Linked DNA regions of Homo sapiens: all the other regions are linked to region 2. Evidence: promoter capture Hi-C in 16 types of primary human blood cells and fetal thymus (Javierre and others, 2016). All regions are on one chromosome and are shown on one strand. The core of a region is centred on a gene start or on the middle of the fragment in contact, and the rest is flanking DNA. Distances in the headings are between cores, read along the strand shown. Region 1 holds the start of LOC124903690 (a long non-coding RNA gene). Region 2 holds the start of LPCAT2 (lysophosphatidylcholine acyltransferase 2). Region 3 overlaps CHD9 (chromodomain helicase DNA binding protein 9).

What was found. The method cuts DNA at HindIII sites, captures the fragments that hold promoters and counts their contacts. A CHiCAGO score of 5 or more calls a contact.
Region 1: a fragment that was not itself captured here is called in contact with the fragment with the promoter of LPCAT2 in region 2 in 1 of 17 cell types (endothelial precursors); the score reaches 5.1 in endothelial precursors.
Region 3: a contact is called between a fragment that was not itself captured here and the fragment with the promoter of LPCAT2 in region 2, in 1 of 17 cell types (M0 macrophages). The highest score is 7.0, in M0 macrophages.

What each region holds. Positions count from the first base shown.
Region 1 is chr16:53,503,941-53,506,941 of GRCh38, reverse strand. It overlaps LOC124903690 (a long non-coding RNA gene), which reads right to left and starts at 2,562. Exons shown (of 2, transcript XR_007065069.1): 1 at 2,522-2,562; 2 at 964-2,201. It also overlaps a transcript of AKTIP not described here. RefSeq lists a silencer at 2,566-2,655 and an enhancer at 2,976-3,001. The HindIII fragment of the contact is 1,012 bases long and covers 1,228-2,239 here.
Region 2 is chr16:55,507,301-55,510,340 of GRCh38, reverse strand. It overlaps LPCAT2 (lysophosphatidylcholine acyltransferase 2), which reads right to left and starts at 1,269. Exons shown (of 14, transcript NM_017839.5): 1 at 989-1,269. The coding sequence starts at 1,159. The HindIII fragment of the contact is 4,685 bases long and covers 421-3,040 here.
Region 3 is chr16:53,093,252-53,096,392 of GRCh38, reverse strand. All of the region lies in intron 1 of CHD9 (chromodomain helicase DNA binding protein 9), which reads right to left. Among named protein-coding and RNA genes, the nearest start is that of CHD9, 40 kb to the right of the region's middle. The HindIII fragment of the contact is 2,568 bases long and covers 478-3,045 here.

The DNA.
Region 1 (3,001 bases), core at 484-2,983, 2.0 Mb after region 2:
TTCAAAAATTGAGAATAGGAAATGTAATATGAAGCGATTTAAAATGTTTTATAGGTAAGGTTTTGGGTCCATTGAGATTTTTCTCAGCACTTTATGTTTTAGTCTTAAAGAAATGGTACCTTGAGGCCACCTCCTCATTTCCCTTTGAATAAATCATCCTGATTTTCATAATGAGTTGCTTTCTTGGTGCAGACCTGTGGGCGTGCAGGTAGGTGTTTCAAATGTACTTTTGTTTCTTCTGTCCTTCATTTGGCAAATATTTATTGCATGCCTACAACATCTAGCTCTTGGGTGCCGGGGAGACAATAGAAAGCAAAAAAATGGTTCCTCCTCAGGAGCTTACAGTGTGGGAGACAGACACTAATAATCTCCCAAATCAACAGCAAATTGCCCCCAAGGAAGTAGTGTTAGAGCTGAGATCTGTGTAGGGGATTGAAGAGAATGAACTGGGCAAAGGGAACGTTCACTGCGAAGGCCCCTTTTGTGGCAGGGCAGGTAGGGGAGCAACTCCCTTCCAAGGAACTGGAAGAATGTCAGAGTGGCTGGAGTCTGCAGCCACCTGGGGCTGGGACACAGCCATGGTGAGGAGTTTGGTCTTTGCCCAATGGGGAACCACTGAAGGGCTTAAATTCCTCAAGAAAATGGAGGTTCTGTCAGCAATGAAAAAGGGAGAAGTGGGTATTAGGTATACAGGCAATAGTGCTTACAGAAACACCCCAAACATACCTACCCAAAACACAACCCAGATTTTCCCATTTCCCACTGTCCCAAACCTGCTTGTGGTTCACTGTTTGTCACCTCAGTGAATGGCCTCACCATCCATCCTGTAGCTCATGCTAAAAATCTAGGTGTCAGCCATATCTGCCTCTTCATCCCCCATACCTAGTCCATGGCCAAGCTCTGTCCACCCCACCTGTATGAATCCATCAGTGTTGCTATAAAGGAATACCTGAGGCTGGGTCATTTATTTTTAAAAAGAGGTTTATTCAGCTCATTGTCCACTTCCTTGGGGCAATTAGCCATTGATTTGGGAGATGACTTGATTAGCATCTATCTCCCGTAGCTCCATGAGGAGGAACAATGTCTGTTTTGTTCTCCAACGCCTCCCCAGCATTTAAAGCCTAGATGTCATTAAGCATGCAATAAATATATGTCAAATGAAAGACAGAGGCAACTAAGTATAAGAAGCATGGCACCAGCATCTTCTGGTGAGGACCTCAGGAAGCTTCCATTCATGGCAGAGGGAGAGGCCAGCAGGAATCATTTGGCAAGAGAGAGAGCAGTGGTCAGGGGAGGAGAAGGTGACAGGCTCTTTTTGACAATCAATTCTCTCGGGAACTAATAGAACTCACTCACTACTGCCAAGAACTCACTACTGCCAGGACAGCACCAAGCCTTTCATGAGGGATCAGCCTCCATGACCCAAATACTCCCACCAGGCCCCACTTTCAACATTGGGGGTCACATTTCAATATGAGGTTTGGAAGGGTCAAACCATATCCAAACTATATCATCCCGTCTTAAACATCTCTGGAACTCATTCAATTCTCCATCTCTACCTTCAAATTCATGCGATTCTCTGTTGCCTGAACTACTGCCATGGTTCCTCAACTGCCCCGTGAGCCTTGTGCCCCTACAATCTGTTTTCCGCACAAAGTGATGTTTTCAAAATACAAATCTGATCATGGCTCTCCTCTGCCTAAAGTCCAGGCAGAGATCTAGGGAAAATCTCAGCCCAAGTCGATCATGGCGGACTCCTTCCACTTGCCGTTGACTGGGTTTCGTTGTGGCCAGAGACTTACTTCTGGCCATTGAAACCTGCAGGCATTTCTTCTGCGGAGCTTCTGGGAAAGGTAGTCATGTATTTCAAAAGGGACCACTGGAAGAAAGGGATACTTTTAATTTTGTGAGATCCTGGGTGTGCCGCGGCCATCTTGCTACCAGCCTGAAAGTGCAATTCCAGGGACTGCAAGGAAAGCAGAGCCTGAAGACCAGGGCACCACCTCTGGAGACAATCCTCCCATGGGAGAGAAATCCCCTTGCTAAGTAAGCCGGTTTGAGTTGGCTTTCCTGCCATGTGCAGTCTGATGCTGGTGTGCGTCTGAGTCATCCGGTGCCAAGTACGCAGTTGATGACATGCATTGGAAGCTCAGTGGATAGATGTGAGCTGGAGAAATACCTATGTGGGTCCTCGGTGAAAACTGAAGGTTGGGGAAAGGAGGAAAGCAGAAAAAAAGCTTTGCAGAGGATAATGAGCTTCAAAGAAGATTGGGAGGAAATGGGCCACAGAGGTGCCAAAGGAGACCACCTGTGGCCTGAAAAAAGGATTTCCTGCTTGCCTGCCTTTCTGTATTAAGACTCGTATTAAAAGGCATGATAACATTCCTAAATGTGTCCTAAGGGGACAAAAGGAAGTGGCTCAGAAGTGTTTTCAGCTAGGGGAGGAAGCTGGGTTTCAGAACCAACCCTTGGGATTAACATCAGGAGAATTTGGCTTCCTGCCCTTTAATAAGTCACTTACCAGAATCTCAGAGGCAACCAAAAATGGACCAAACAACCCGGCCAGAGAATGCGGCTTCTGAGTGTAAGACACTGAGGCGGTGTCACAGACAGGTCAGTGCCTCTGGTGTCTAGAAAAGGGGCAGGGGCTTGCGGGGAGAGGGCTGTCGCGCAAGTGTGGAAGTGGAGTGCCGAGATTGGACGGACTAACCACGGGGAGGCACCGTTGGTAAGAACAGGCCTGGAAAGCAGCTGGCAGCAGTCACAGAATTAGGCCAGAGAGAGACCTCCATGGGAAAGCAGACGGGAGGTCCAAATGAGAGCGTGTGAATTAAAAAAAAAAAAAAAAAAAAAGACCAGGAACTATGTTGCTATGGGAGAGGTTCTCCAACTTCAGTGTGCGCCAGAATCAGCAGCGAACTGTGACAGATGTGGATTCCTGGTCCTCAGCCTCCCCCCTCCCCCCAGCCCCCGGCCCCCACTCGGATGCTGCAGGTCGGGG
Region 2 (3,040 bases), core at 20-2,519:
ACCCTTTACAAGAAAAAGGAAAGGAAAGGAAACTTCCTTTGTGCATAACAGTATAGCCATTTTTAACAATGGAAAACAGCCTGGGCTACTACTTCTCATGCTTCAACTTAGGAAACGTTTTTAGGTGAAGACTGATTCTGGACCAAAACTTCTTGAACATCCTAAGCTGACTCAGTTGTCCCTTTTCTTTGATTCTGACTTCCCACCCTCCATCATGCTCCTGCTCAGCTAAATCTTTCCAGCCTTACCTGTTGTTCTAACCACAGACCTAGGCTCTCTGCCTTCTGCCTCACTCTTATCCATCCCATACTGACTCCTCTCCTTCCTAAGGCAAAAAAAAAAAAAAAAAGACTTCTTCAAATCTACTCTCCCGTAGTAGATCTGCCTCCCACTACACTCTCATAAACTCAAGTTGAAGCTTCTGTCACAGATTCACAGATTCCTTCAACCTTCTGGGGCATGGAATGTAGCCTGCGCCACCAGCCAGCTCAGTCTCTTCCTGTTTTGGATTCTCCTCTCAGGCCCGCATCTTCCCAGCATCTTCTCTCCTCCCGTGCCCGCTCAGACCATCCTCTAAATGTCCTCAATTCTCAGACACACATCTCCGCCCCTTTCAGGCTCACGGCCCCTCAGAAGTCCTCTCCTCTCAGATCCACTGCTCTTTCTTCCTCTGATGCCTTTGCTTCCCAGACCCACAACGCCCCTCAGACCCACGCGCCCCTCGACCGCCCTCCCCCGTCAGACCTACACCAGTCACCTGGACCCGCCCCAGACCCTGGCTCCCCTCGGGCCACCTCCCTCCTCAGACCCATGCCCCCTTCAGGCCACCTCCCTCCTCAGACTCTCGCCCGCCTCGGACCACCTCACTCCCTCAGACCCACGCCCCCCTCGGCCGCCCTCCTCTCTCAGACCCACACCCCTTACCTGGACCCCCCTCTGACCTAGGCCCCCCTCAGACCACCTCTCCCCTCAGACCCACGCCCCTCACCTGGACCCGCCTCGCGGAGCCGATCTGCGTCTGCTGCACGAAGGGGTTCGGCACCGGCGGCGGGAAGAAGGACGCCTGACGGGGCACCATGGGCGGCCGCAGCCCCACGTTCCCGACGCCGGCACCTGGCACTGTGGCCGCCACTTCCGCCGCCTGGGCGCACCGGCTCATAGTTGAGCCGGGCGTAGAACCCGGCCGAAGCGATCTACGCGGGCGCTGCAGCCAAAACTGAGCCGAAGACCTACTAGAGTCCCAGCCTAGGGCGACGCTGGGGAGCCTCTGCGCAGGCGCTGAAGTTACTTAGACGCCTGCTGCTGCCGCCCTGCCCCTTCGGCTGTGACACGCCCCAGGCTCTGGCCACACCCCCTCAGGCATCTGGCTCCACCCCCTTGGTAATATAGTCCATCCCCTCGGAGGGGAATGTTTTCCTTCCGAGCCAAGACCCTGAAGGGTACCCCAGGATCCCTAACATTCCACAGCGAGACACTAGGCAGAGTTCCCTGCTTTAGGGTCGGACGGACCTGGATTTTCAATCCCTTTTACTGGGCCTGTGACGCTGGCCAAATCACTATCTCTATGAACCTCGGTTGCCTTCCGTAAAATGCAGATAAATGTATTCTCAGATAATCCTAACCTGGATCCAGTAATGCCATTGAGCAACCACTTCCCCTGGGCTGTTCCATTAAGTGAGCTAATATTAATACACCCATGATGGCACTAGGAGTGGAATTTGTTTCACTCAAAACATAATGGACTGACAGGGGAGAGATGGTTCTCCAGAGGAAAACTGAGCTACTATTACCAGAAAAGGCAAAAATTACAGTTGCCCTCCACGCTAGATGAGGAACCTGACCCAGAAAAGGGAAATGTATTGGGCTGTGGCTCCCTTTCACACTGAGGAAGTTCAAGCCTGTTTGGACCTATGTGGGTGCTCGTGGGGGTGGGAGGGCAGGGGTTTGTCCCATTATCTGAGGACAGTTGATCAACCCTGAGTGGCTGAGAGTTAAAGGAAGGAGATGATAATCAACTCATCCCAACTGATCAACTCTTCTCACAGCAGGTAGGAAGGCCAGGATGAAAATCTGAGTCTGAGCCCTGGGGTTCTCCAAAGTTACCCTCTGAATGTCAGAATCTTCCAGCCCTACCACATAGATGTGTGGCCTTGAGTCAGTCACTTAACCTGAGTTTGCTTCCTTGTCTAGGAATGGGAGATTCATTCTAACTCCATAGAATTGTAGCAAGGATTAAATAAAATAATGCATGTGTAGTGTTCATAGAGAAACACTGAAGAAATGGCATGTTTTAAGCATTATTATGTTGTGGAGCCACTGACTTTTCTCTCAGTGTAACAGGGAACATTAATAACAGTGCATTACAGCCATGATAGAAGATTCCCCAGTCTAGGGGGTCTTCAAGTTGGGACTGGCAGACCCTTGAGACTCTTTAGCCAGATACCTGCACAGAAAGATGTCTTTCCAACTGTCAACAACCTAAGCCAGGCCAGGTGCAGTGGCTCACGCCTGTAATCCTAGCACTTTGGGGGCTGAGGAGGGTGGATCCCTTGAGCCCAGGAGTTCGAGACCAGCCTGGGCAACAAAGAGAGACTCCACCATCTCTAAAAAAAATTAAAAATTAGCTGGCTGTGCTGTTGCATGCCTGCAGTCCCAGCTACTCAGGAGGCTGAAGTGGGAGGATTGCTTGAGCCCAGAAGATCAAGTCTGCAGTGAGCTATGATCATGCCATTGCACTCCAGCCTGGGTGACAGAGAAAGACACTGTCTCAAAAAAGAAAAAAAAAGAAGAAGAAGAAACAAAAAGAATCTGAGTCAAGGGGACAGGCCATGGGAGGATAAAAGATAGAAAAGATGGGGCCGAGAGTGGTGGCTCACACCAATAATCCTAGCACTTTGGGAGGCCGAGATGGGTGGATTGCCTGATCTCAGGAGTTCGAGACCAGCCTGGGCAACACGGTGATACCTGTCTCTACCAAAATACAAAACAAATTAGCTGGGTATGGTGGCGTGCACCTGTAATCCCAGCTACTTGGGAGGCT
Region 3 (3,141 bases), core at 512-3,011, 2.4 Mb after region 2:
CGCAATTATTTTTGCACCAACCTAATATTATCATATTGTTGGTTTAATAATGATGAGGTACCCGGCATTGTGTTGGGTATTGGCGACCCAAAGTTGAATAAGACAGTGACGTGGTCCTAACTGGGAAAGGCTTTGCAAGCATTCTGTGCTTCATTAAATCCTTACGTCTTGGCTGGGCATAGTGGCTCATGCTGGTAATCTCAACACTTTGGGAGGCTGAGGTGGGAGGATCGCTTGAGCCCAGGAAGTTGAGGCTGCAGTGACCCATGATTGTGCCACTGAACTCAATCCAGCCTGAGTTTTAGAGACCCTATCTCTAAAAAAAAAAAAAAAAAATCTTCACAGTCCCCTTGCAGGATGACCCCCACTGCTCCACCAACTGACCACTGTAAACCATATTTGGAAAGGCAATAACCATGAAGAGATCACAATGAGATGTCACTTAATACCCTTTCAGTTGGAAAAAATTAAGAAGCTTGATAATACCAAATTGTTGGAAAGAACACAGATCAATTGGATATTTATATGTTTGTTGTTACTGGGATTGTAAATTGATAAATTCACATTGTTTCCCTGGAGACACAGACAAAAATGATCAGCTTAGCGTGTTCAAAGTCATGGAAAGCTGGTAACAACCCAAATGTCCACTAACAGGAGATTCAGTAAATTCCCATGGAACATACTAGGGAGAACTGCAATAGAGCAGGGACAACAAGTGGACCGTAGCTGAATGCTACGCTATGGGTGAGTTTTAGCCACATAATATTATGAGAAAAAAGTATACCCAAGAAAGCTGCATATAGCAGGATATTCTTTTTTGTTTTAATTTTAATTTTTTTTTTTAGAGACAGGGTCTTGCTCTGTTGCCCAAGTTGGAGTGCAGTGGCACTATCATGGCTCACTGCAGCCTCAATCTCCTGGGCTCAAGCAATCCTCCTGCCTCAGCCTCCCAAGTAGCTGGGACTACAGGCACACACCACCACGCCCAGCTACATTTTAAAAATTTTTTTGTAGAGACAGGGTCTTGCTGTGTTGCCCAGGCTGGTCTTGAACTCCTGGCTTCAAGTGATCCTCCTGCCTCCCCCTCCCAAAGTGCTGATATTATAGGTATGAACCACTGCGCCTAGCCAGGATATTCCTTTACACAAGAAAAAACAACAAATCTAAACAATATGGCTTTTAGAAAAATATTTGAAAAAGCATTAGTTTTTAGAGGAGCAAAGGAATGATGAACTCAATATTCAGAATAGGGTGGGGAAGGCAAAGTAATAGGAAGGGAGGACACAGGGGAAGAACGTGCAGTGGAGTGACTGTATTATAAGGAAATACACAAACAGATAAATAACAAATTACCAGATGCAGGTTGCACAAGGTCCAACTGAAGATGAAAGAATGTCATGAGTCAAATATTGTGAATAACCCTAAGCACTTAAATTCAGTAAAAAGGAAAACAAGGCCGGGCGCGGTGGCTCACGCCTGTAATCCCAGCACTTTGGGAGACTGAGGCGGGCAGATCACCTGAGGTCAGGAGTTCAAAACCAACCTGACCAACGTGGCGAAACCCTGTATCTACTAAAAATACAAAATTAGTGGGGTGTGGTGGTGCATGCCTGTAATTCCAGCTACTCAGGAGGCTGGGGGAGGAGAATCACTTGAACCCGGGAGGCAGAGGTTTCAGTGAGCCAAGATCACACCATTGCACTCCAGCCTGGGCGACAGAGGAAGACTCCATCTCAAAAAAAAAAAAAAAAGAAAAAGTAAACAAAAGCCTGCTCTTGGGACTGGTATGAAGTACCCATAAGGAAGGGTGTTGAGAGACGGGAAATAAAGCAGGGTGTGTGTGTGTTTCCAGGAGGATTAGGCAGAGGTGACACTATCAGTTATGCACTGCTGTTGCAGGTTCAGAATTGTCACCTGGGGTCACCGGGTACGGGTGAGTTTTCACTGTGACGGGGCTGGGAAACACCCCGGCCCAGCCATGTTCAGTCACTGGTCTCTCTGTGCGGTGGCTGGCCCTTGGTGTCCTCTCCCTGGGTCTTTGCCAGGCCTGCCCCTGCCACCTGCCCCGGTACAGACTTCCAGTTCCTGTGTTCTCAGACAGGATCAGCCCTGCCCCGCCCAGCCCAGACTAGGCGGATGCTGGGTGTATATAGGAAATCTTGCACAGCAGGAGTTCCAGGCACACTACCAGAAACCATGCAGTTTGGTCACCAAGCCCATAGGCCTAGACACCTTCTCTCCTGCTCTGCGGGGAACCCAAGGGGAAGTGCTCTCAGACAGCTGAGCTGCCACAGCAGAGCTGCCTGCTGTCACAGCCAGGCCCCACTGGCCATGTGCTGAAGCAAGCACTTTTTCCTTAAGATAAAGTCTCCTCCAGGCCCCCAAGGCTGACACCGGGCAGAGGCACACATTGTTAGGCCCAGTCATTGACAGACTTCATGGACAGAACTAACTGGGACACTCGCAATCGAACCAAAGCCAGTCCCTGGTTCTCTTTTGTGCTTCTGCTGGTGGGTCAGAGCTCTCAAGGCTCTGAGAGCTGCTTCCATGCCCCTCACCCCAAAACAATCATCAGTGTCCATCATGAGAGAGCACAGAAACGAGCCAGGAGGACCCTAGATCAAGTTGTACCTGGCCACTTTCTAGCTATCTCTGTTAGCTTAATTCTCTAAGCCTCAGCTTTCTATCTGTACAATGCGGACAATCATACCGCCTTTGCCTGATTGAAAGGCATTAGTGAGAACAACATGACACAATGGGGAAGAAAGTGCTTATCAAACAGAAAGGTGTGGTACATTTGTACTAGAATGTAAGCCCCTAGAAGGCAGGAACCTTGTATGACTCCTTCACTGCCCTACTCTCAGGGTCAAGGACAATGCCTGGCACATAGCAGGTGCTCAATAAATAGTTCTTGAATGAGCGAATTGGGTTATGACAGATTAGAGTAAAAATAATGATGATGATGATAATCCCTAACATTAATTGCATCTTGGCTATGTGCCACGCATAGTGCTTAGGGCTGTAATAGATAATCCCATCTAAGCTTTACAACAACCCAATAAATGGGGGTACTATTGTTATTCACATTCTGCAGATGAGTTAATGCGATTCAGAGAAGTCAGTGATTTTCCTAAGGCCACA